5 separate regions of the Homo sapiens genome follow, and regions 1, 2, 3 and 4 are each linked to region 5. Evidence: promoter capture Hi-C in 16 types of primary human blood cells and fetal thymus (Javierre and others, 2016). All regions are on one chromosome and are shown on one strand. The core of a region is centred on a gene start or on the middle of the fragment in contact, and the rest is flanking DNA. Distances in the headings are between cores, read along the strand shown.

Region 1 (5,091 bases), core at 1,859-4,358, 380 kb before region 5:
AATGTATCTTTTTCTCTTTTCAGCTCTATCAGTTTTGCTTCAGTGTTTTGATGCTCTGCTGTTTGGTGCATGCACAGTTAGGTCTTCTTTGTGTATTAATCCTTTTATCATTAAGTGATGTTCCTTTGTCCCTAATGTTTTCCTGTGCTTGGAAGTCTACTTTATCTGATATTAATATAGCCATGGCTACTTTTTAAAAATGAAGGTTTGCATAATCATTTTACATGTTTTTTTAACCTACCTATGTCATTGCTTTTCAGCTGAGTTTCCTGTAGGCAACATACAGTTAGGTTGTGTTTTTTTTTAACCCACTGTTCCAATCTCTGTTTAGTGTATTTAGATCATTTCATTTGAAGTAATTATTAAAATGTTAGTGCTAAAGTCTTTATTTTACTATCTTTTTTTTTTCTGTTTGTTCTCTCTGTTTCTTATTTCTCTGTTTCTCTTTAACTTTTTTTTTTTTTTTCAGACAGAGTCTCACTCTGTCGCTTAGGCTGGAGTGCAGTGGCACTGTCTCAGCTCACTGCAACTTCTGCCCTGCCAGGTTCAAGTGATTCTTGCGTCTTGGCCTCCCGAGTAGCTGGATTATAGGCGCCCACCACCACACCTGGCTAATTTCTGTATTTTTTAAAATTAGAGACGGGATTTCACCATGTTGGCCAGGCTGGTCTGGAACTCCTGAGCTCAGGTGATCTGCCCCCCTTGCCTCCCAAAGAGCTGGGATTACAGGTGTAAGCCACCACACCCAGCCACGCCCAGCCAACATTTTCTTTATTTTAATGAGATATATAAATATGTATGTGATTTTTTAGTATACTGCTCTGGATAGTTTTCTTAGTGGTTTCTCTAGGCATTACAGTATTTATACATAAATTGTGACAGTCTACTGTCACACAAAGTGTTACCACTTCAGGTGAACTGTAGACACCTTACTCCTCCTTAGTTTCTTTTATCTTGCCCAGTTTTTAAGTTTAACTGTCTTAAGTATTTCCTCTACATACATTAAACACCCCATCAGATGGTGTTATATTTTTTGTTTCACCCATGAAATATGATTTAGAAACTCACAAGGAAGATCGTCTATTTACTCCTATTTTTGTCCATTCTGTTATTCTTTCCTTACTGATTTCCAAGTCTTCTTCTGTTGTCATTTCCTTTCTGTTTAGAGAATTTTCTTTAGCCATTCTTTAAGAGTCAGTCTGCTAGCCACACATTCTCTTATTTTACCTTCATCTGAATGTGTCTTTATTTCCTCCTCATTCCTGAAGGATACTTTCACCAAACATACAACTCACAATGAATAGTTTTTTCTTCCAGAACTTGAAAAATTGTTTCCACTTCCTTGTAGTATCATGGCTCCAGATGACTCTTTTCAGGATATTTTTTCTTTGCCTTTCATTTAATTATGATGTGTTTTGGCATGAGTTTTCTTGGGTTTATCTTATTTAGGGTTCACTTAGGTAATTTAATCTATAAGCTTAGTTCTTTTGCCATGTTTAGAAAGTCTTCACCAATTATTTCTTTCTCTCTCTCTCTGTTTCTTTTTTTTTTTTTTTTTTTTGAGATGGAGTCTCTCTCTATTACCAGGCTGGAGTGCAGTGGTGCAATCTCGGTTCACTGCAACCTCTGCCTCCCAAGCTCAAGCGATCCTCCTGACTCAGCCTCCCAAGTAGCTAGGACTACAGGCACATGCCACCACGCCCAGCTAATTTCTGTATTTTTAGTAGAGACAGGGTTATCACCATGTTGGCCAGGTAGGTCTTGAACTCCTGACCTCAGGTAATCTGCCTGCCTTGGCCTCCCAAACTGCTGGGATTACAGGCATGAGCCATTGTGCCTGGCCCATTATTTCTTTGCATACTTGTTCAGCCCTATTCTCTTTGTCTGCTTATGAATGTTAGATCTTTTGTTATAGTCTCACAGGTCCTGAAAACTCTGTTCTTTTTTTTTTTTTAAGTCTTTTTCTCTCTGTTGTTCAGATTGAGTAATTTTTATTGTTTTATCTTCAGGTTCATTGATTTCTTTCTTCTGTCATATTCATTCTGCCACTGCACCCATCCAATAAGTCTCTTTTTTTCAACTATTGTACTTTTCATTTCTATAGTTTTCATTTGGTTCCTTTTTACATCTTTTACTTCTTTAGCGAGACCTAATTTTTTTTTCATTTGCAAAGTATATTTGTAATTGCTCTTTTGAATGATTTTTGTAAGATGGCTACTTTAAAATTTTTGTGAGATAGTTCCAACCTTGATTCACCCTGGTATGGTGTCTGTTGATTGTTTCTTCTCATTCCATTTTCAATTTCCTGGTTCTTGGTATGACAAGTGAATTTTGATTGTATCCTAAACATTTGCACATTATGACTTTAGATTCTACTTAAATCTCCTTTCCTAGCAGTCAGTCACCCTGTTTAAGTTTAGTGCATAGGTCCTATTCCTGCTTTTGTGGGCTATGGTTCTTTTGTGTTTTGTTTGTTTGTTTTTGTTTTTGTTTTTTGTTTTTTTTTGAGACAGAGTTTCACTCTCATTGCCTAGGCTGGAGTGCAATGGCATGATCTTGGCTCACTGCAACTTCCACCTCCCAGGTTCAAGTTATTCTCCTGCCTCAGCCTCCCGAGTAGCTGGGATTACAGGCATGTGCCACCACACCTGGCTAATTTTGTATTTTTAGTAGAGACAGAGTTTCTCCATGTTGGTCAGGCTGGTCTCAAACTCCTGACCTCAGGTGATCTGCCCACCTCAGCCTCCCAAAGTGCTGGGATTACAGGCTTGAGGCACCACGCCCGGCCTGTGGTCTGTGGTTCTAATGACAGTAGAGTTTTCGAAACCTCCGCGGTGCTGTTCTTGCCCGTGTCCTTCCCTTGGTCCGAGCTGGTGGAGTGCACTTCCCCGGTACACTGGGTGTCGGTGGGAAATACCAGCACTTGCGACGAGAGCATTTTCCTCATTTGCTCTCAGCCACCTGGTGCCAGCTTTCATCGTCCGTGCAGGTGAAAGGGGATCTGGAGGCATCAGGTTCTGCAGGGCAGTGTGCCCCTTGCCTATTTTTCTCTGCGCTGCCAAAGGGACCTCTACCTGTCCCACTGTGGGAGGAAAGCCCCTGTCTGGGCTGCCTCTGCTCTGGGATGAGGGGACTGTGATTACATGGGCCTGTGTCACCTTCTACCACTGGGTGAAAGAGGTATGAACAGTAAAATTAAAAATATAAAGTCAAGATGTGTTTAGAAAATGAAATTTTCTTGTCTCTCTCTCTGCTAAGAGGAATCAATTTTATATTTTAGCTTCATTTTGGTTCTTTAGTCACTTTGAGTTTTAAAATGCTGTCTCCTTCAGAGAGCTTTTCTGCCAAACCTAATCACTTTCCCCCCATTCTTGATGCTCCTGAGGGAGTCTTCTCCCACTCTTGGTTCTTCTCCTCCTTCCTCCTGGTGTATGAAAGGGCCCATTGCTCATTAGCAGAGGGCAGGGAGGGCCTGTGGGCTCCTGCAATCAGGCACGTGTCTGTGGTCCCCTTCCTTAGCCTGAGATCTCCAGACTCAGCAGCATCCAATGCTGGCTCCTCTGTGTAGGTCACTGGGTGGCCCTGGGACTCCCTCGTTTCTCCTACAGGTTCCATCCTGCACAGAATTTCCCCAGCCCCAGCTCCCTCCAGCCCCTGCTCCTCTTTGCTTCTGTGTGTGACCTATTGTGGGCTGGCACATGGGCCATGTTCCCAGGCATTTTCTACCTCAGCCTCTAGTGCATATGATTACGGAAGTCTTTGCCCTGCCATGGGGACCTGCACAGATACCTTCCTTGCCAACTGGTATCCTCAGCTCTGCTGTTGCTCGTCTCTCTCCTGACTTTCTCCCATGCCCTGACAGAACTTTCTGCCGAATAACTCACATCCAAGAAGCAAACCCTAGCCACTCTTCCCATAATCTTGTGTCTCCCTAAACATTATTCTGCCTCCTTTGCAAACACCTCAGATTCACTTTATTTCCTTTCTACTCTTCCAAATTGTTCTTATATCTTCTCCCTCCCGTCTCTCTCCCTCCCTCCCTCAATGACTAGACATTGTCAGGTAAAGGTCAGGCCTGGTAGACCAGTTGGAGTCACTGCCACATTGCCTCAAAAGCTGCACCTGGGGCCTCCACCAGTACTGAGTGACCATCCTGCTCCCACAGCCTCTTCACTTTTCCATTTAAAAATGCTTTTCTTGCCACCTCCACTTCCTCCCTGTTGAGGAAAGATAGCCCTCCTGGGTCTCTCACACCACTGCCGGTTACTCTGATTTCCACAAATGCCAAACCCCGATCACGCTTTATCTGCGTCTTTTCTCAGGGCTGTTCGCAGCAGGCAACCTTGAGGGATGGGGTAATGTCTCTCTCTGGACAAAGAGGAGGCTTGTTTGCTGCTTGCTATTAAAGCGATGGATTTCTCATGTTCATATTCTTCTCGTACAACTTACTTTATGTGCCGGTGTCATCTGGATGCTCCAGACCAGCCCCATAGGAACGTGGGGGACAAGAAAAACGAACACAAACATGCAAATGCTAAAATGAAGCAGAAATTCGTAGTCATTTGGGTGAGGTTACAGGAATACTTTCCTTCCCCTGAACGATCCATTTTAACATTTTCCTATACAGTACCAGATGCTTAGGTAATTGCTTGCCCTCTCCCCTAATCCTTTTTGCTTTGACTTTGTATTTTTAGCCTAGAAGTCTCCCGCTGAGCAGAACAATATGGCACTAGGGAGATTAAAGCTTTGACGTGATAAATACTTGGGACTTGAGACCTTTTCTCGGAAGGTACATTATCGCCATTCAAATTGCCCAGGAAGTCTTGTGCAATGATACACATTTTAGCATCTCTTTCAATGCCTGCTCTTATGTCTGATAATATGAAGAAAGCTATACCTAACATAACAAGGTGCTTCCTCTTCTATCCCTGGCTCCTCCCAAGGGACATGAAGAGATGCTAGAAGAATACAAGGGGGTAAAGAACCTTGGATCTGAGTCAGAACAGAAAAAAAAACAACATGGAGAGGAAGAAACCCTGAAAACAAGCCTAAGGACCTCAGCACCCACTACAAAAAAAAAAAAGAGTCTGG
Region 2 (4,775 bases), core at 366-2,865, 390 kb before region 5:
GTGGTTTGCACTTTTCTTCCAGTTTTTACCCTGTCTTTTTATTAACAGGCTCTTATGCAGGGCAAAAGTTTTAAATTTTGATAACATCCAATTAATAAATTCTTAGAATTGATTGTGCTTTTCTGGTGTCATGTCTAATAATTATTCATCAAGTCCTAGGACCTGAAGAATTTCTCATTAAATTTCATATTTTTACATTGAGATGTGATCTTTTTTTTTTTTTTTGAGATGGAGTCTTCCTCCATCTTCATATCTGACCACCATTGGTATCTAATTGGTTTTCTTATTGTCTACCATCCCCAGGTGATATCTGATCACTCTGGCATGGCTTCAGCAAGAATTCTGTGAGGTCAGTTTAGCCAGATTCCCTCCTATTAGTAATTTTCCATACACTACCACCCCTCCACCCTGCTCTGTGGCTATAAAATTTCTATTCAGAGGGAAACCTGAATATATGGAAACTGGAGATTACTGCAAGACCCTATTGCAGTAATCTCTATATCTATTGCAATAATCCCTCTGAATAACGTTTGTCTTACTATTTTTTAACAGGTGTCACGAATAGTTTTTTCTATAATACAGCTCAACAAAACAAGTCTGAAATAGAAGAATAAAGTGGGAGGAATTATTCTACCCAATTTTTTAACTTTTTACATAGCTACAGAAATCAAGACAGTGTGGTATTGGCAGGGGGACAGACAGTTCAATAAAACAGAATTGAGAACTCAGAAATAGTTCCATACAAGTACAACCAACTGACTTTTGAAAAAAGTGCAATATCAGTTCAATAGTACAGTGGTTCTGGAGCAGTTAGATACCATAGACAAAACAATAACCTCAATCTAACCTCATGTCTTTATTAAAAAAAAAAAGGATCAGCCGGGCGCGGTGGCTCATGCCTGTAATCCCAGCACTTCGGGAGGCTGAGGCGGGAGGATCACGAGGTCAGGAGATCGAGACCACCCTGGCTAACAAGGTGAAACCCAGTCTCTGCTAAAAATACAAAAAAATTAACCGGGCATGGTGGCAGATGCCTGTAGTCCCAGCTACTCGGGAGGCTGAGGCAGGAGAATGGCGTGAACCCGGGAGGCGGAGCTTGCAGTGAGCCGAGATGGCACCACTGCACTCCAGCCTGGGCGACAGAGCGAGACTCCATCTCAAAGAAAAAAAAAAAAAAAAAAGATCACATATCTCAATGTAAAAATATGAAATTTAATGAGAAATTCTTCAGGTCCTAGGACTTGATGAATAATTATTAGACATGACACCAGAAAAGCACAATCACACACCTGTAATCTCAGCATTTTATCAGGACAAGCTTTCTCTCCGGAGTGAAAAGGCGAGTTAATTTATCACAAATCAAACAACGTTAAATAACTAGCCTTCAAGAGCTGAGATAAAGAATATGTGCTGATGCTGAGCATATTGGGTTGGGTTCCCCTGAAAAGCAAGGGCTGAGCCAAAGGAATGCAGGTAATTCCAGAGAACAGAAATGGAGGACTGCAACAGGAAAGGATGGGAAGGTAATACAGGGTGAATTCTCAAGTGACTCGTTTCAGGCACCTAGTGCCACTGTCTGTGGAATCTTGGTGTTTCCATCAGCTCCTGTTTCCCAATGACCTGTAAGATGGTAACACCCTCACGTTCCATGGGTGCCAGAGAGCTTCCCGCAGTGTTCTCAAGCCCTGGGAGAGAAGTCTGGTCTACACCCTGCAGTGGAGGCCAAGTACAGTGTACACAGTTGGGTCCTGCCTGCCTGAGGATCGCTGCTGGAGATGTGTGCAGAGAGGATGGGAGGGGTAGGGCACTATGAATTAGACATCTAATCCAGGAGAGCATTTTCATTTGCACAAGGTGATAACCAACCTGAATTGAAAGAGTAAGGATGTAAGCTAGACGTTAGGAAACGCTCCCAAGCTTAGCAGATAGGAGGTACTGACAAGAATTAGTAACAAAGAAAGGTCCAGGTGCAGTGGCTTATGCTTGTAATCCCAGCATTTTGGGAGGCTGAGGCAGGAGGATCACTTGAGGTCAGGAGTTTGAGACCAGCCTGGCCAACATGGTGAAACCCTATCTCTACTAAAAATACAAACATTAGCTGGGTGTGGTGGTGGGTGCCTATAATCCCGCCTACTCGGGAGGCTGAGGCAGGAGAATTGTTGAACCTGGGTGGTGGAGGTTGCAGTGAGTAGAGATTGCCCCACTGCACTCCAGCCTGGGTAACAGAGTAAGACTCTGTCTCAAAAATAAAAAATAAAATAAAATAAAAATAAATAAATAAAATAATGAAGAAAGGATGGGTGACTTCCCTGCAGACTTCACTGACAGTACTCAAGAAAAATCTTTCTGCAATGATAGGCCCTGGATGGAAGAAGGAGGAGACTGCCCCAGACACTCTTGGCATACCAACGTTCTGAGAGTTTGGTTCTAACTGTTCGAACTATGTATTTCCTCTTTCTTCCCTCCCTCTCTCCCTTCGCCCCTCCCTCCCTCTCTTCCTTCCTTCCTTCCTTCCTTTTCCTTCCTTCCTTCTTTCCTTCCTTCTTTCTGTCCCCACACAGCTCTTCAGTCCTGTTACATCAGTTTTCTTTTCTCTGCTAAGTTGTATTCTGAATTCTATTCAATTTAAACTCAAATTCCTAATAGAAAGTAGAGCAATACCTGGATATCTGTTCTTAATACATCGTTTGAGGTGGGGAAGGCAGGTATTTAATTTGATTTATTCACCAGTAAGTGGCACTGAAAATAGTCATTGGTGGAAAAATCAGTTTTTCTTATTTTCAGCATAGAGATTATTTTAATGTGAAATTCATTCCTTTTATAATTATAAACCATTTGATTTAGACCAATTATTGATCAAAATTAGACATTTTAAATATTGCTGATGTAGTTTTTAGTCCTATATAATTTCATGATATTTTCCACATATTAAACTCTCTCAATTCAAATAATTTGGGTACATTTTGGAAATTCCCATGTAATGTAATATGTCACACATGAATTTTATTTATGAATATAATGTTTAAATATCATAATAATCTAGAGAAACAAGTGAGAAGAATGACAGACAAGAAAAAGCAAAAACAAATCTATGGTCATAAAAGTATAAATATTCACATTCATTTTTATTTTATTAAAAACTTTTATTTATATAAATTTATGGGTACAAGTGTAATATTGTTATATAAATCCATTGCATACTGGTGAAGTCAGGAATTTTAAAGTATCCGTCACCCAAATAATGTACATTGTATCCATTGTGTAATTTCTCATCATTCCCTTCCCCACCTTCTCACCCTTCTGAGTCTCCATTGTCAATTATTCTGCACTCTACGCCCATGTGTACACCTCATTTAGCCTCCACTTATGAGTGAGAACATGTGATATTTGTCTTTCTATGTTTGTCTTGTTTCACTTAGGGTAATGACCCTCAGTTCCATCCCTGTTGCTGCAAAAGACATGATGTCATTCTTTTTTATGACTGAGTAGTATTCAAGTGTGTATAATACCACCTTTTCTTTATCCAATCTGCCATTGATGGATACTTAGGTTGATTCTGTATCTTTGCCATTGTGAATAGTGCTGTGATAAACATATGAGTCCGTGTTATCTTTTTCTTTTTTTTTTTTTTTTGAGACGGAATCTCGCTCTGTCACACAGGCTGGAGTGCAGTGGCACAATCTCTGCTCACTGCAAGCTCCTCCTCCTGGGTTCACGCCATTCTCCTGCCTCAGCCTCCTGAGTAACTGGTACTACAGGCGCCCACCACCACACCTGGCTAATTTTTTTGTATATTTTAGTAGAGACGGGGTTTCACCGTGTTAGCCAGGATGGTCTCGATCTCCTGACCTTGTGATCCATCCGCCTTGGCCTCCCAAAGTGCTGGGATGACAGGCGTGAGCCACCGCACCTGGCCGTGTTATCTTTTTAATATAATTCTTTCTTTCTTTTTGGGTAGATACCCAGGAGTGGGATTGCTGGATCATGTAGTAGTTCTATTTTTGTTTCTTTGGGAAATCTCTGTTCTGTCTTCCACAGAGGTTGTACTAATTTACAGTTGCACTAACAGTGTTATAAGGGTTCTCTTTCTCTACATCTTGCCAACATCTGTTATTTTTTGTCATTTTAATAGTCATTCTGATTGGTGTTAGATGGTATCTCGTTGTGGTTTTAATTTGCATTTCTCTGATGATTAGTGATGTTGAACTTTTTTTCAAATGCCCGTGGGCAATTTGTATGGCTTATTTGAAAACTCACTATTCATGTCCTTCTTCCACTTTTTAATGGGATTCTTTAGAGGTATTTTTGTAGAGTTGTTTGAATTTCTTGTAAATTCTGGATATTAGTCCACTGTCAGATGTATTCAAACTCATTTTAAAATACATATTCTGCATGGCAAAATAAAACGAAACAACATAACCCCAAACACACACATCTGCTGACTTTCATAGTCAATACTAGGGAATTAGCTGAAGCGGGACAAAAGATACATACACATATGCCTTTGGCATCCAGATAGACAAGCTGGGTCTGTTAGGCATTAATAGGGAGCTCTGGAAACTGCAGTCTACTGCAGAGCACGCGCCACACCCAGATAATCTTTTTTAAAAATCTGTAATTAGCTTTATTAACAGTGTAACATTTTCATGAATTCTTAAATTTTGTTTTAATTTTCACAATATTACAGTTTAAAATATACAGTTTAATAACAAGCATGTTAATTCAAATCAACAAATATTCAAGCCTACATGAAAGAAGAATGAAATGAGATTACC
Region 3 (4,534 bases), core at 1,696-4,195, 440 kb before region 5:
TCTCTAGCTTCTGAGATAACTTGCTGCAACTCTAGGACTAATTTTTCCCATTGCCATTGCTCAACAATCAGAGCTTGCCAGCTCTCCAGGAGCTTCCCAGTGTCAATGAACTTTCTCAAAGAACAATACGTAACATTGCGGAGCGTACCAGAGACCACCTGTTCTGTGTGTATGCCCCGAATTGTGATTCTCTCTTCCCAAATGAAACATTAAATTTAGATATTTGGGTCTACATTTATATTTTGACTTTGACAGGCTCTATGTATTTTACATTGTTACCATTCCATATCGATTCCTCTGTTTAAATTTTTTTTAAAAAACTCAAACCCTTGGCTGGACATGGTGGCTCACGCCTGTAATCCCAGCACTGTGGGAGGCTGAGGCAGGCAGATCACTTGAGGTCAGGAGTTTGAGAACAGCCTGGCCAACATTGTGAAACCCCATCTCTACTAAAAATACAAAAAATATCCAGGCGTGGTGGCAGGCACCTGTAGTCCCAGCTACTAGGGAGGCTGAGGCAGCAGAATCGCTTGAACCCGGGAGGCTGAGGTTGCACTGCGCCAGTATCACGCCATTGCACTCCAGCCTGGGCAAAAAAGAGGGAGACTCTGTCTAAAAAACAAACAAACAAACCCAAACCCTTTAAAACAATCCAAGAAATAGGCTAGTCACGGTGGCTCATGCCTGTAATCCCAGCACTTTGGGAGGCTGAGGTGGGCGGATCACAAGGTCAGGAGATCGAGACCATCCTGACTAACACGGTGAAACCCCGTCTCTACTAAAAATACAAAAAAATTAGCCGGGCATGGCGGCATGCACCTGTAGTCCCAGCTGGGGAGGCTGAGACAGGAGAATGGAGTGAACCCGGGAGGTGGAGCTTGCAGTGAGCTGAGATCGCGCCACTGCACTCCTACCTGGGTGACAGAGAGAGACTCTGTCTCAAAAAAAAAAAAAAAAATCCAAGAAATAAATTAGTAGCGTGATCTAAAAATGAGTCACTAATTCAAAATTGAATCCTCCTGAGATAATGCCTGCCAGGTGCTTAGAAGAGTGCCCAGGGTATATCAGGCACAAAGGGCTTACCAGCCATGGAGACTGTTAGGTTTCCAGATTATGAGGATGCCCATTGTAATTTTCACATTTGCTACAAGAGGTTGTCATGTGAACCTCACCTCGCCCCACGCAAACGTTGTTTAGCTATCAGCTAAGTGGACAATCACAACTCCATTAATATGATATGAATGGAAACCTTTCCATTTTAGTTACCATTTTGATTCTTCTGTCCAGTTTTTCTGTGTTAAACATATTATAAATATGAGCCTGTTTTCTAAATCTCAAAGCATATCTAAAATTCTCTTTTCTTTGAAGGGTATGAAATTCTAATCAGTTTTGGGAATTTGCTCATGTTGTCATTTATTTCACAAATACCTTCTCTGGAAAAGCCACTTTGTGTGGTTCTGATTTCTCTCTCTCTTTTCTAAATGTCTTTGATAAATTTAAGCATGTTTTTGTAGTCAGCCATTTCAAATAGTAAGCAAGGAATGAATTAAACACACACACATACTTTATTCTCTCAATCACAGGTCAGCAAATTTTTTCCATGAAAGGCCAGATAGTAAATATTTTAAGCTTTGCAAACCTCTATCACAACTACTCAACCTTGTTATTACAGTGGGAAAACAGCCCTAGACCAGTCCTGAATGAACGAGCATGGCTGTGTTCCAATAAAACTTTATTTTGGACATTTATTACAGTCACTAAAACTTGAACTTCACATACTTTTCACATGTCACTAAATATTCTTCTTCTCCCCACTGTCCTGCCCCCCCAGGCATTAAAAAATGTAAAAAAAACTATTTCTAGCTTATAGGTGGCATAAAAGAGGTGGTGGACTGTAGTTTGCTGCCTTCTGCTGTAAACTGTCGATGATTATGACCAATAAATTATTACTAATCGTTTTAGTGCTGTCACTAACAGTAAGCAGATGCCCACACAGCTAGATGACTTAGAGAAAGGGCCCCAGTGCTGAGGACATTTCCTCTCAACAAAGCCAGACAATTGAAAAATAGAAATTTTGATTAAAAATCTATTTTCTTCGGTTCCAATGATCTCTGTTTGTGGCTAGCTCCTGTTTGATTTCTGATCAGTAGTCTGGGATGGGCTATCTTACATGAACTTCCTGATGATCAGGAGATCTCTTTTTCTCTTCTGTATTCCTCATATTGAAACTGCCTCCCGCACTCCCCCCACGCCCCCCCCACCCCTCCGCAATTTTGTAAAATCAATTAAGAAAAAAGAAAATAAAATCCAACTAGGCTTGAAACAGCCATCTTTAGGTCGGCTTGCCCTTTGGCCCGCTTCTGGGTTGCCGTTCTGTGGATAAAGTCTGAGGCGCTGTGAGGCCATCAGCTTTCTGTTCGAGCTGCTTCTTCAGGTTCTGCTCAGCGACAGACACCAGCTGGTGTGGAGGGCCCAGGAGGAAGCTGGCTCAGGAAGGAATGCAGTTTCCACATCCTGATGATTTCATCCCCTCACCCAGACCAACTGACCATCCAAATTTCCCAGCCCCTCACCTCCACAAATCCCCTTAAAAACCTTTGCCCAGAACCCCTCAATGAAATGAGAGGCTTGAGAACTACCCCCCTTTCCTCACTGAGCACTAGTGATGACGAAACTGTTCTCTGCTGCAGCCCTCTACAGCTGTGTTTGTCTGTTGCACAGCAGACATGTGACCTGGGCACCATCTCACACTCTGACCCATGAGGCAGCCGCTGTACAGACTCGCCTCCTGGGCCCCTCTGGAGCCCCGTTTCTCTGCCGTCTGATTGCCTCTGGCCTGGCCCAGGTCTCTGTCAGCTCTAGCCTGCACATGGCCTGTGCACGGCTGGTCTCCTGGCTGTTTGTCTTCTTTGCTTTCTATCTACCTGCCCTTCACTCAACTCCAAAGGGAGCATCTGACCAGGACTCCTCCAGGTGTGAGACCCTGCCCTGACTTCCCTGTGGGTTGGGGGTATCTATTTCCTCTTCCTCGAAGATACATCTTGCCATTAGGTGACTGTGTAACTAATTCACAGGCAAAAAATGTGAATTTTTTTTTTTTTGAGACGGAGTCTTGCTCTGTCGCCAAGGCTAGAGTACAGTGGTGTGATCTCGGCTCACTGCAACCTCCACCTCCCAGGTTCAAGCAATTCTCTGCCTCAGCCTCCCGAGTAGCTGAGATTGCAGGCGCCCACCACCATACCGAGCTAATTTTTTTTTTTTTTTTTTTGTATTTTTAGTAGACGTGGGGTTTCACCATCTTGGCCAGGCTGGTCTTGAACTCCTGACCTTGCGATCCACCCACCTCAGCCTCCCAAAGTGCCGGGATTACAGGCGTGAGCCACCGTGCCCGGCCGAGAATGTGAATTCTTAATCCTCTTGTGCCTCAACTTCTTCTTCTGTAAAATGGGGCCAATTATGGGAGGACTGCCTGAGAGCATTTCCAGGTGCACTGAAGATGCATGAGAAATATTAGTTCCCTTCTCCTGTTTCTACTTTTTAGTCTCATCCCTGAGGCCAAGAGTGAAGTTGAAGAAGACACTTAATTCTCTGTGATGCATTCTTGAATAACGAAAAGCAAATATTGAAGTCTTTTATTCTCTAGCCTTAATAGCCTTGGTCTTTTTGACCACATTGAGACATCCTGGCTCCAGGTTCCTGTGCTTGAGGGCAGCTCTCTACCAAGGGTGCACCTGATGTAGCCCCCACTGAAGACCCAGCATCTGGAGCTGAAGGTAGCACCTTGAATGCAGTTTGGTCAGAGCCTTGTCTAGTGGGATTATTTTTCCCCTAACGTAATCAAATTTTCTAATAAAACACTCAGCATTACACCTTAAGGAATGAGAGAGCTGTAGTTTCTCAATTTGGTATATATATATTATATATATATAATCAATATATAATCAATCAGGTGATTGATTCTCTCACCTCAGCCTCCCGAGTAGCTGGGACAACAGGCACAAATCACCATGCTAGGCTAATTTTTTGTATTTTTAGTGAAGATGGAGCTTCGCCATGTTGCCCAGGCTGGTCTCGAACCCCTGAGCTCAAGTGATTGGCCTGTCTCGGCCTCCCAAAGTGCTGAGATTACAGGCATGAGCCACCACGCCTGGCCCCCAATTTGGCATATTTTAAAAGAAGGAAATGGGTAATGAAATCATTTTGAAAGAAAAGTGCCTGGAATAACTGTTTTGTACAAAATGTTAAAAATTTAATGAAAAAAAGAAGCTTTGTAGACAAATAGAGAGCTGGGAAGTGGCAGGAACTCTGATCATTATTTGAGCAAGCTCTTTGCTCCTGTGTCATGACTGACACCACAGCTTATCTTGATAGAGCTATGAGATGACTGCGCTCATGTGTTCATTCATGCCAAGAATCTTGTGATATTGCTACTAGCACCTTGAAATGCATTAAACTATAATTTTGATAATTTTCAATAAAATATATGACAACTTTATCAAAGGGAATGGGGGTCTTCTTGTTATAATAAATGTTT
Region 4 (4,538 bases), core at 1,062-3,561, 320 kb before region 5:
CAGCCAATATCATACTGAATGGGCAAAAACTGGAAGCATTCCCTTTGAAAACTGGGACAAGACAGGGATGCCCTCTTTCACCACTCCCATTCAACATAGTGTTGGAAGTTCTGGCCAGGGCAATCAGGCAGGAAAAAGAAATAAAGGGTATTCAGTTAGGAAAAGAGGAAGTCAAATTGTCTCTGTTTGCAGATGACATGATTGTATATTTAGAAAACCCCATTGTCTCAGCCCAAAATCTCCTTAAGCTGATAAGCAACTTCAGCAAAGTCTCAGGATACAAAATCAATGTGCAAAAATCACAAGCATTCTTATACACCAATAACATACAAACAGAGAGCCAAATCATGAGTGAACTCCCATTCAGAACTGCTTCAAAGAGAATAAAATACCTAGGAATCCAACCTACAAGGGATGTGAAAGAGCTCTTCATGATGTGCTTTGATGAACAGGAGTTCTTGATTTTAATGTCGTCAAATATATGGATCTAGTGTGACTTTTCTGATATTATATTTTAAATTTGTGATTATCAGCGCCTTTGTTATTGTTTATTTCTAAGGTTTTTGTTTTGTTTCTGAGGATATTAATTATTTTTTAAGGTTTTAAAGAATTAGTTGACCAACTTCAGAAGGGCCAACTTCCAATAAAGAGAGTTTCTGAGAGTGAACTGAAAAAATGGTAGCAGGAGGAATCAAAAAATAATTCAAGAAGATATATCATAACTGAAGAATTTGACTTGCCAAATGAAAAGGATCCACCAAATGGGGAGCACATTAAATGAGATTTGTCCCCCATCAAACACATCATTAGTGACCTTCAGAATCCTGGGAACGGAAAGATGACTTTCCAAGTTTCCTTAGAGGAAAAGCAGGTCAAATGCAAAGAGTAGGAATCAGAATGGCTTTGAAATTCTCAACAGCAACAGTAGAAGCTAAAAAACAATGGAGGATTATCTTCAACATTCGGATTGCCTATAGATTCTTCAATACCCAGACAAAGTATGAATTAAATGTGAAGATGGAATAAAGACATATTTAGACATGAAGAAGTTGCAAAATTTACTTTCTATTCTATTGTCTCTGGAAGCTGAGAGGATGTTGTTGATCAAAATGAGGAAATAAAACAACAAAGAACATGATTAGCATTCAGAAAACAGTGGGTTCCAAACAAAGGAGAGATGAAGGGAGTCCTCAGGACAGGACAGGAGAAAGAGTCCAGGATGCCAGCCACAAGCAGGCTTGGAGAACAGACAGCCCAGAACTCTAGAATATTTTTTCAAGAAGACAATAATAGTGCTAATGTGTTTGAACACATTGAGAGAAGCTTTTCATGACTGAAGTAGAACTTGAAATGCGTAAGTGATAAATATATGGAAAAATAAGCAACCAACAAAAGATTATTATTAACTCAAGAACAAACATAAATTTGTTAGAAACTGTAGGGTAGTGGCCACACCTACAGAATACAGATCCAGAATGCCTGGGGTTCAAATTCTGGTTTTGCCACTTAACGGCTGAATTACCTTGGGCAAATCACTTCATCTCCATGGTCCTCATATATAAAATCAGGATTATTATAACAGTCTTGTGAAAGTTTTGTGAAAATTAAAGTCCTTGGATCTTTTTCTGGCCCAGAGAAAGCCCCATGTAAATGTTAACGGTCTTTATTTTTTATTTTATTTATTTTTTTAGAGACTGGGTCTGGCTGTGTTGCCCAGGATGGAGTGCAGTGGTGCGAGCTCAGCTCACTGCAGCCCTGACCTCCCGGGCTCAGGCAATTCTCCTGCTTCAGCCTCCTGAGTAGCTAGGACTACAGGTGTGCACTGCCACACTCAGCTGATTTTTTTTTTTTTTTTTTGTAGTAACAAGGTCTTGCTGTGTTGCCCAGGTTGTATTAACTATTGTGGTTGTCACGACCACTACCACCGTCACCATCATCATTGTATATGGTCCATGGTTCAGCTGGAAAGGTGCAACTAATAAAAATGCTGACTACTAAGCTTAAGAAAAAAATGTCTATTTAATTAGATTGGGAGAAAGTGAAGACAGAAATTGCTTGTCAGGTTAGGAAAGGGAAGGAGGGAAGGAGATAAATCATCTTCCACATTGGGAAGTCTTAGAGAAATTTTTAATCTGCAAAACCAAATAAGTAACAATATAGGCATTTTTGTTGAAGACATGGAGGAAGATATCAAAAGGTTAGCTAAGAAAGTTTACAAGAGTTGCTCTGTGGGAGTGGGAAATGGGTGAATAGACACAGGGAACTTATTCTTTGTAACAATCTTCGTCAATTAGATGTATAGATATTTTAATTCTAAAATTAAAACAACGTTTTTCTTTGAAAAAGAAATCGCCATGTCAAGTTGTTTCACTGGATAATTCTGTTTAAGGAAGAATCAATGCTAACAATAAGCAATTTTTTCCAGATCATATAAGAAGAGAAAATATTTCCCTTCTCATTGTATGGGACCAGTATCACACTAATACCAAAACCAGACAAAGAATTACAAAAAAAGAAACTTACAGATCAATATCCTTCATGCATGTAGACACAAAAACCTTTAAACAAGTATTAACAAATAGGCTTCAGTGATTTTTAAGAAGAATTACACACCATAACTAAATGAAGCTTATTCCAGAAATGCAAGGTTGGTTCAATATTAAAAAATCAGTCAATGTAATCCACCACATTAACAGAATAAAATTCACATGATGTTATCAATTGATGCAGTAAAGTATTTGACAAAATTTGTTTATTTAAATAAATTTTATTGTGTACAAACATGATGTTATAAGATACATATATAAGAAAATGGTTACTATAGTGAAACAAATTAACATCTCCATCATCTCATTTAGTTATCCATAATTCCTCCTGTGGCAAAAACAGCTATAATCTACCCATTAAGGAAAAATCCTGAATATGATACCCTATTATTCACTGTAGTCTTCATGCTGTTCATTAGACCTTTCCACTTGTTCATTCTACATATTTATTTGCTACTTTGTATCTTTTGACCTAAACCTCTCCATTTCCTCCCCAACTCCAACCTTGGTAGCCACTGTTTTATTCTCTGTCTCTATATACTTGATCTCTTTTTTTCTAGAGACCCCACATAAGTGAGATCATGCAATATTTTTCTTTCTGTGTCTAGCTTATTTCACTTAGTATAATATGTTCCAAGTCCACCTATGTTGTGGCAAATGGCAGATCTTCCTTTTTGTTGTTGTTTTTGTTTTGTTTTTAGACAGGGTTTTGTTCTGTCACCCAGGCTAGAGTACAGTGGTGTGATCTTCACTTACTGCAGCCTCGAACTCCTGGGGTCAAGCAATTCTCCTGCCTCAGTCTCCCTAGTAGATGGGACTACAGGCATACACCACCATGCCCAGCTAATTTTTATTTTTTTTTATAGATATGGGGCTCTCATATATTTTTTATAGATATGTTGCCCAACCTGGTCTTGAACTCCTGGCTTCAGGCTATTCTCACATCTTGGCTTCCCAGACTGCTGGGATTACAGGTGTGAGCCACTACACCCGGCCAAGATCTCCTTTTTTTTTTTTTTTTTTTTTTTTTTGAGACGGAGTGTTGCTCTGTTGCCCAGGCTGGAGTGCAGAGGTGCCATCTTGGCTCACTGCAAGCTCTGCCTCTCGGGTTCAAGTCATTCTCCTGCCTCAGCCTCTCGAGTAGCTGGGACTACAGGTGCCCACCACCATGCCCGGCTAATTTTTTGTACTTTTAGTAGAGACAGGGTTTCACTGTGTTAGCCAGGATGGTCTCGATCTCCTGACCTCGTGATCCACCTGCCTCGGCCTCCCCAAAGTGCCGGGATTACAGGCATGAGCCACTGCACCCAGCCCAAGATCTCCCTTTTTAAAGGCTAAATAATATTCCATTGTCTATTTATGCCATAGTTTATCCATTCATCCATTAATAGACACCTAGGTTGTTTTCATACGTTGGCCATTGCGAAAAATGCTGCAACATGGGTGTGCAGATATCCTTACCAGGTAGAGATTTCATTTCCTTTGGATATATGCCTAGAAGAGGGATTACTAGGCTGCATTTGACAAAACTTAATACCTTTCATGATTTTAAAAAAATTCTGAGAAAACTAGGAATAAAGGTGAACTCCCTCAACCTGATTAAAAAAAAAAATTCCTGCAAAACATAACAGTGAAAGACCGAATGCTCTCCTCGTGAAATCAGGAGCAAACACAGCAAAGGTCCCCACCCTCACTACTACTATTCAACTTAGTCCTGGAAGCTCTAACCCGTGCAAAAAGCAACAGAAGGAAATAAAAGACACAGTTACAGCCTATTCTCATTTAAATTTAGGGGTAGTTATGTTCCATAAAGTCATTGCAAACATCAACTTAGCAAAAGCTAAACCACAGGGTTAGGTTCCTTCCAGGCTCCAGACATAACATTTTCACCAACCAAAACACCATTTACTCTATATAGCTTTGTTTGCTAACGTCCTTGTAAAACAAGTAAGTCTCATCAGCGTTGAAAATTTGCTCTCCCAAATAACGCTT
Region 5 (5,275 bases), core at 323-2,822:
TAAGTTTTTGATATTTTGTTCATTATAAACTTTTTTTGCATTCATTTTGACTTTTTAAGATATTGTATTAAAACATTATTTACCTTGACTACTGAGTTTTTTTGTCGCGCCCTTAAATTTTGCCCCTATGCGAGTGCCTCGCTCGCTTGCCTCCTTCTAGCCCGGGTCTGGCAGGGAGTTGAAATTATTTTTCTCACTGCTGAATTCCCAGGGCCTACAACAGTGCTCGCCAAAAAATTAATACTCTTGGTTCTTCAAATAAAACATTCTGTAAGGACTGCTCCCAATTTCTTCCTGAACTTCACGAACCCTCCCAGCCAGGCCACAGGATGTCAGGGGCAAACACCCTGAACCAACGGAGCTCAGGTTCCCTACCACCCCGCCCAAGCCCGCTCCAAGCCCAATTACCCTTCCCCTTCCTCGTCGTCCCATCCTCCCTGATGCCTCTTCCAGGGTGCTGGGCCGCGCGGCAAGAGCTCCAAGGCAAGATTCAAATGCCCTGGGGAGACGGCTGCGGGACACCTGCGGCGGGGCCCGGCAGGGAGCGCGAGACTGGAAGAGAGGCCAGGAGGGAAGGAGAGCGACGCGGGGTTTTGGGGGAGGGGCTGCGTGGGGCGCTGAAGGGGAGCGCGAGGAGTGGGAGGAAGTGAAGGAGGAGGAAGAGCACGGTGTGGGGGAAGCGCAGGAGGCAATAGGTGGGGCGGGACGGAGGGCAGGGCGCTGCGTCGGGAGAAAGTGTAGAAGCGCTGGGGAGAGTGCCCACGACGGGAGAGCCCAGGGGCGCGAGGGCGCGGGAGTGTGGGCGGGGCGCAGTGGGGATGGGGGCGGGGGCGCGGGATGTGGTAGGGGGCGTAGTGGGGAGAGAGTGCAGGAGTGTGGGCAGGGCGCAGTGTGGGGAGGGTGCGGGAGTGTGAGCGGGGCGCAGTGGAGGGAGTGCAGGATGTGGGCTGGACAACCAGTGGGAGAGGGCGCGGGAGGTGGGCGGGGCGCAGTCGGGATGGGGGCGGGGGCGCGGGATGTCGGCGGGCCGCAGTGAGGGGGAGGGCGCGGGAGTGTGGGCGGGGCGCAGTGGGGGAGGGAGCGGGAGTGTGCGCGGGGCGCAGTGAGGGGAAACTGTGGAATGTGGGCGAGGCGCAGTTGGAGAAGAGTGCGGGGATGTGGGCGGGGCGCAGTGAGGGGAAACTGTGGAATGTGGGCGAGGCGCAGTTGGAGGAGAGTGCGGGGATGTGGGCGGGGTGCGGTGGGGGAGGGTGCGGAGATGTGGGCGGGGCGCAGTGGGTGGAGAGTGTAGGGATGTGGGCCCAGCGCAGTGGGGGACAGTGTGGGGATGCGGGCGAGGCGCAGTGGGGGCGGGGGCGGGGATGTGGGCGGGGCGCAGTGGGTGGAGAGTGCGGGATGTGGGCGGGGCGCAGTGGGTGGAGAGTGCGGAATGTGGGCGGGGCGCAGTTGGGGAGCTTGCGGGGAATGTGGGCGGGGCGCAGTGGTGGGAGGGCGCAGGAGTGTGGGCGGGGCGCAGTTGGGGGAGGGTGCAGAGACCTGAGGGCTTGAGGTTGCCTGGCTGGCCCCGCTCCCAGAGGCGGGTGCCGCGCTGTCGCCCAGGTATCTGGGGTCTCTGGTGTCTGAGTGTCTCATTGTCGGCGCGAACACAATTGCTCCAGCCACAGGCGAGGCCTGGCCAAGGTGTGGGCGCATCTGGGGCAGGTCTTGAGAGGTCCAGCGCCCGGTGGTGCGGACAGAGGCGGGGCACCGCGGCGCTCGCCGCCGCCTCCCCGCAGGTGATCATCCTCCTGCAGGTGTCCTCGGGTCTCAGGTGGCTGCGTGTCTGCGCCATGGTTGACATTCTGGGCGAGCGGCACCTGGTGACCTGTAAGGGCGCGACGGTGGAGGCCGAGGCGGCGCTGCAGAACAAGGTGGTGGCACTGTACTTCGCGGCGGCCCGGTGCGCGCCGAGCCGCGACTTCACGCCGCTGCTCTGCGACTTCTATACGGCGCTGGTGGCCGAGGCGCGGCGGCCCGCGCCCTTCGAAGTGGTCTTCGTGTCAGCCGACGGCAGCTCCCAGGAGATGCTGGACTTCATGCGCGAGCTGCATGGCGCCTGGCTGGCGCTGCCCTTCCACGACCCCTACCGGCAGTGAGTGGGGGTCCTGGGGGGGCGGGGGCCGCCCGGCACGTCTCCCCCATGTTCCCCCAGGCCTCCCCCTCTGCACTGGGGAGCTCTTTATGACGCCCCCCCCCAACACCTCCCCGTCTCTCGGTTCACGTCCGGACTCCGGTAAATCACACTCAGTCTCAGTTTCAACCTCTCTTGGAGACCAGGGAGGGTGCAGACCAGATTCGAAAACCCAGGGCATCGGCACCCCAAGGGGGCTCGTGGAGCATGGACGCGGGCGCGTTTCTGCCTGGGGTCTGGAGCTCCGGGAATCTGCATTGCGAAGGAGCTCCCAGTGGTGGTGATGCTGTGAGTTCGCGGGCTCGGCTCCGGGAACCGCCGGCCCAATCAGCCCTGGACTCCCGGCGCCGCTGCGTCATCCTCCCAGTTAGTGGGCAGGAAGCACAGGGACATGACCCGGTGTCTGGATGCGGGGATGAGGGATGACCCGCGAGGACATCAGCTCTGTGACAGGCACCCACAGTGCAGGCCGTGGTTGGTTTGCTGGGAGGGAGGGACGGGGGCTTCAAGGCTGGCAGGAACCCAGGTGCTGGCCACCTTTGCGGTTTCATTTTTACCGACACTGATGGAATTTCATCACTAGAGAAGCATAAAACTCATTACTATAAACTTTATTACTCTAACTGTTGCAAAGGAGGGGGTAGGGATTGGCAGAGAGGGGATTACAGGGATTGATTGTTCTGCTTTTGGGGTGGGTCTCCTGTGGTCTCCTATGGTGTAAGAGTCCAGACTTAGGTTTAAAGCAGGCCTCGTCAAGTATGTTGTCCTGGCCACCCCCTTCTAGGTACCAATGTGAATTTCTGGGTTTTGCTTTACAGCCTCACATTTCTGGAGATTATCATTAAGTTGTGGCATTACCCCCTAAACTGATTATCATGAGATGACATTCCTTCTGGAAAATGAAAACTGGAAGCTAACTTTGGAAAGTTTTGTAGATGAGTAATTAATGGGAAGAAATCTAATTATTCCCCCAAACATGATTTTTGGTGATTCCCAGTGAAAGAGGAGGCCCAGGCAGGGCACCGCCCAGCCTTCCAGGGGGGTAACCTGCTTCTGGGAGCCTCACTCACACCGGGACTCTGAAAGTTCTATTGATAATGAATCTCCAAGATGGGTGGTTCACTTTGCAAAAGGATTTCTTACAGAATCAGTTCAAGTGGTGCTTTTAAAAACAGGATTGGACTTGTTTAGTACTCAAGTTATTTGTAAGCTTTTGAAAGAACGCAGGTTTGAAAGCGAGAGACGATGGCAGTATCATTATAGTAATTAGGCACAAAGCTCTGGCCCAGCTCTGGGATTTACTTGCCAGGTGATGGCAGGCAAGGTATTTTATTGCTGAGCATATGATACATCACGTGGTTGTTGTCAGGGTTGAGCTGATCACATATGAGCTCATGTGTCCGCTGGTTATGTCCCAGCTCTCTAGTCTATTGCCCCATTTTACAGATGTGCCATTGAGGCATAGAGTTCAGTTCTCCTGGCTCTGAGGACCCTCTTTCTGCCGTGCCCTACTTCCTCACTGAGGGGGTGGTGAGTCTTGGTCCCCAGCGGCACACAGATTGGACTGGGGAGGTCATCGCTTGGGGCCATGGAGACTGCTCGTCTGTTTCTGATGCTCTGGTCAAGCCTGTGAGCTCCAGCTGGAGGCAGTGAGCTGCGTGACGTGGGTCAGCTGTGTGCTCCTATCTTCTCAGCCTGGCTGGCCTGGGAGGGATTTTTCTTTTTGTAAACTTAGCTGTTTGTCCCTACCCCTTTCCACACTGAACTTCCTTAACTCTGTTGTTGTCATGTGTAAGCTAGGTAGTGGGATATTCTGTGGGAATTGTTGGAGCTACGCCCTAAATTCTGCTTATCCTACGTCTACAGGACCTTGGTGTTCCCATCTGATTGGCTCTTGGTTCAAAGACCAATCCGGTTTAGCCATGCCTTGCTCCAACTCTCCGGGGGTTTCCTGAGTTTCCATTGCCCACAGGACAGAGCCAGACATGGTTCAGTGCCTGGCATCCCCAGGGAGTGTGTTTGGTGAGTAGTTGAAGCAAGTGAGCAAAAGACAGTTCTGCAGAGAGATTTGCTTGGCCACAGCCTGCTCCTGGCTGAGATGACAGACTAGAGTCAGGAGTTGCCATGGCAACCCAGAAGTGTGGTTTATGCCAGCAACAAGGATGTGGCTGTGTTAGTTGAAGGCAGGGACCAACGCTGGTTGCAACAGTGCTGAGGACAAGGAGGAACTGGGCTCTTGGATTTTCCCCAAATGCTTAAAGTCCTAAGTTATTACCATGACAACATTCTCTCCTCCAAAAGCAAGTTCTTTTCTCTGTGGACACAGCTCAGGGCCCAGAGGGGATTGAGATGACATTAGGGAAAAAGTGAGGTTCTTTGCCTCTCATGTGCAGCTCCAAGGTTACATTTGTCCCCAGGCAGAGGCTGCCAGCATGGGGATTTGAGGGCTGGTACTGAGTGTCTCTTGGAATATCAGTGAAATGACCACCTCCACCCTCCTGATTCCTCAAAGCCCAGCCTGCTCTGCATCCCCCTGACTGTGTTAGAGCTTGATTTAATGTTGCAAGTGATTAAAACAGCAGCAATGAGAACAACTCAAAGAGCTTGAACAGTAAAGGTTATGGGCTGGCTTTAATGAGACACCCATCAGCCAGAAGATGGTGTCAAGGGCAAGCTGGAGGCCACGGAGGATGCAGCTTTGTGGCTCGCCTTCTGCCACGTCTGCCCCTTGCTCAGGCTGCAGGCAGTTGCTGCCTGGCAAATCCTGTGTCTCCTCACGGTGGCAGAATGGCTGCTGTGTCTCAGACTGCGCATTCCTGTACTTTCCTCTTTCCCAGCACACAGCCAGGTGCTGCACCACGCCTCATTGATTCTGATTTGGCTAGTTCCCCATTTCTGTACTATTAAGTGTAGCCAGGGGCCACCAGATAGATATGCTGACTGAGCAGTTGGCCCAGGTGGAATTGGAGGTGGGTCTTTCCCACACAGTAAGAACAGCTAGCATTTATCAAGTACTTATTATGTGCCAAGCCTCATTCTTCATTAAGCTGTTTATTTAATCCTCACAACAACTCCAGGAGGTGGATTCTGTTATTCCCGTGGTGT

The links. Contacts are between HindIII fragments. The CHiCAGO score rates a contact against its expected background, and 5 or more counts as called.
Region 1: a contact is called between a fragment that was not itself captured here and the fragment with the promoter of NXNL2 in region 5, in 1 of 17 cell types (M1 macrophages). The highest score is 5.1, in M1 macrophages.
Region 2: a fragment that was not itself captured here is called in contact with the fragment with the promoter of NXNL2 in region 5 in 1 of 17 cell types (M0 macrophages); the score reaches 5.4 in M0 macrophages.
Region 3: a contact is called between a fragment that was not itself captured here and the fragment with the promoter of NXNL2 in region 5, in 2 of 17 cell types (M1 macrophages and megakaryocytes). The highest score is 5.6, in M1 macrophages.
Region 4: a fragment that was not itself captured here is called in contact with the fragment with the promoter of NXNL2 in region 5 in 1 of 17 cell types (total CD8 T cells); the score reaches 5.9 in total CD8 T cells.

Annotation. Positions count from the first base shown.
Region 1 is chr9:88,156,602-88,161,692 of GRCh38, forward strand. No RefSeq gene overlaps it. Among named protein-coding and RNA genes, the nearest start is that of SPATA31C2, 21 kb to the left of the region's middle. The HindIII fragment of the contact is 3,267 bases long and covers 1,476-4,742 here.
Region 2 is chr9:88,139,960-88,144,734 of GRCh38, forward strand. It overlaps the pseudogene RSRC1P1. Among named protein-coding and RNA genes, the nearest start is that of SPATA31C2, 3.9 kb to the left of the region's middle. The HindIII fragment of the contact is 599 bases long and covers 1,317-1,915 here.
Region 3 is chr9:88,090,453-88,094,986 of GRCh38, forward strand. No RefSeq gene overlaps it. Among named protein-coding and RNA genes, the nearest start is that of LINC03026, 15 kb to the left of the region's middle. The HindIII fragment of the contact is 2,637 bases long and covers 1,628-4,264 here.
Region 4 is chr9:88,210,719-88,215,256 of GRCh38, forward strand. No RefSeq gene overlaps it. Among named protein-coding and RNA genes, the nearest start is that of SPATA31C2, 75 kb to the left of the region's middle. The HindIII fragment of the contact is 629 bases long and covers 1,998-2,626 here.
Region 5 is chr9:88,533,606-88,538,880 of GRCh38, forward strand. NXNL2 (nucleoredoxin like 2) reads left to right here and starts at 1,573. Exons shown (of 2, transcript NM_001161625.2): 1 at 1,573-2,131. The coding sequence starts at 1,830. LOC105376134 (a long non-coding RNA gene) reads right to left here and starts at 935. Exons shown (of 2, transcript XR_007061653.1): 1 at 409-935. RefSeq lists enhancers at 1,359-2,193, 2,194-3,027. The HindIII fragment of the contact is 6,313 bases long and covers 1-3,378 here.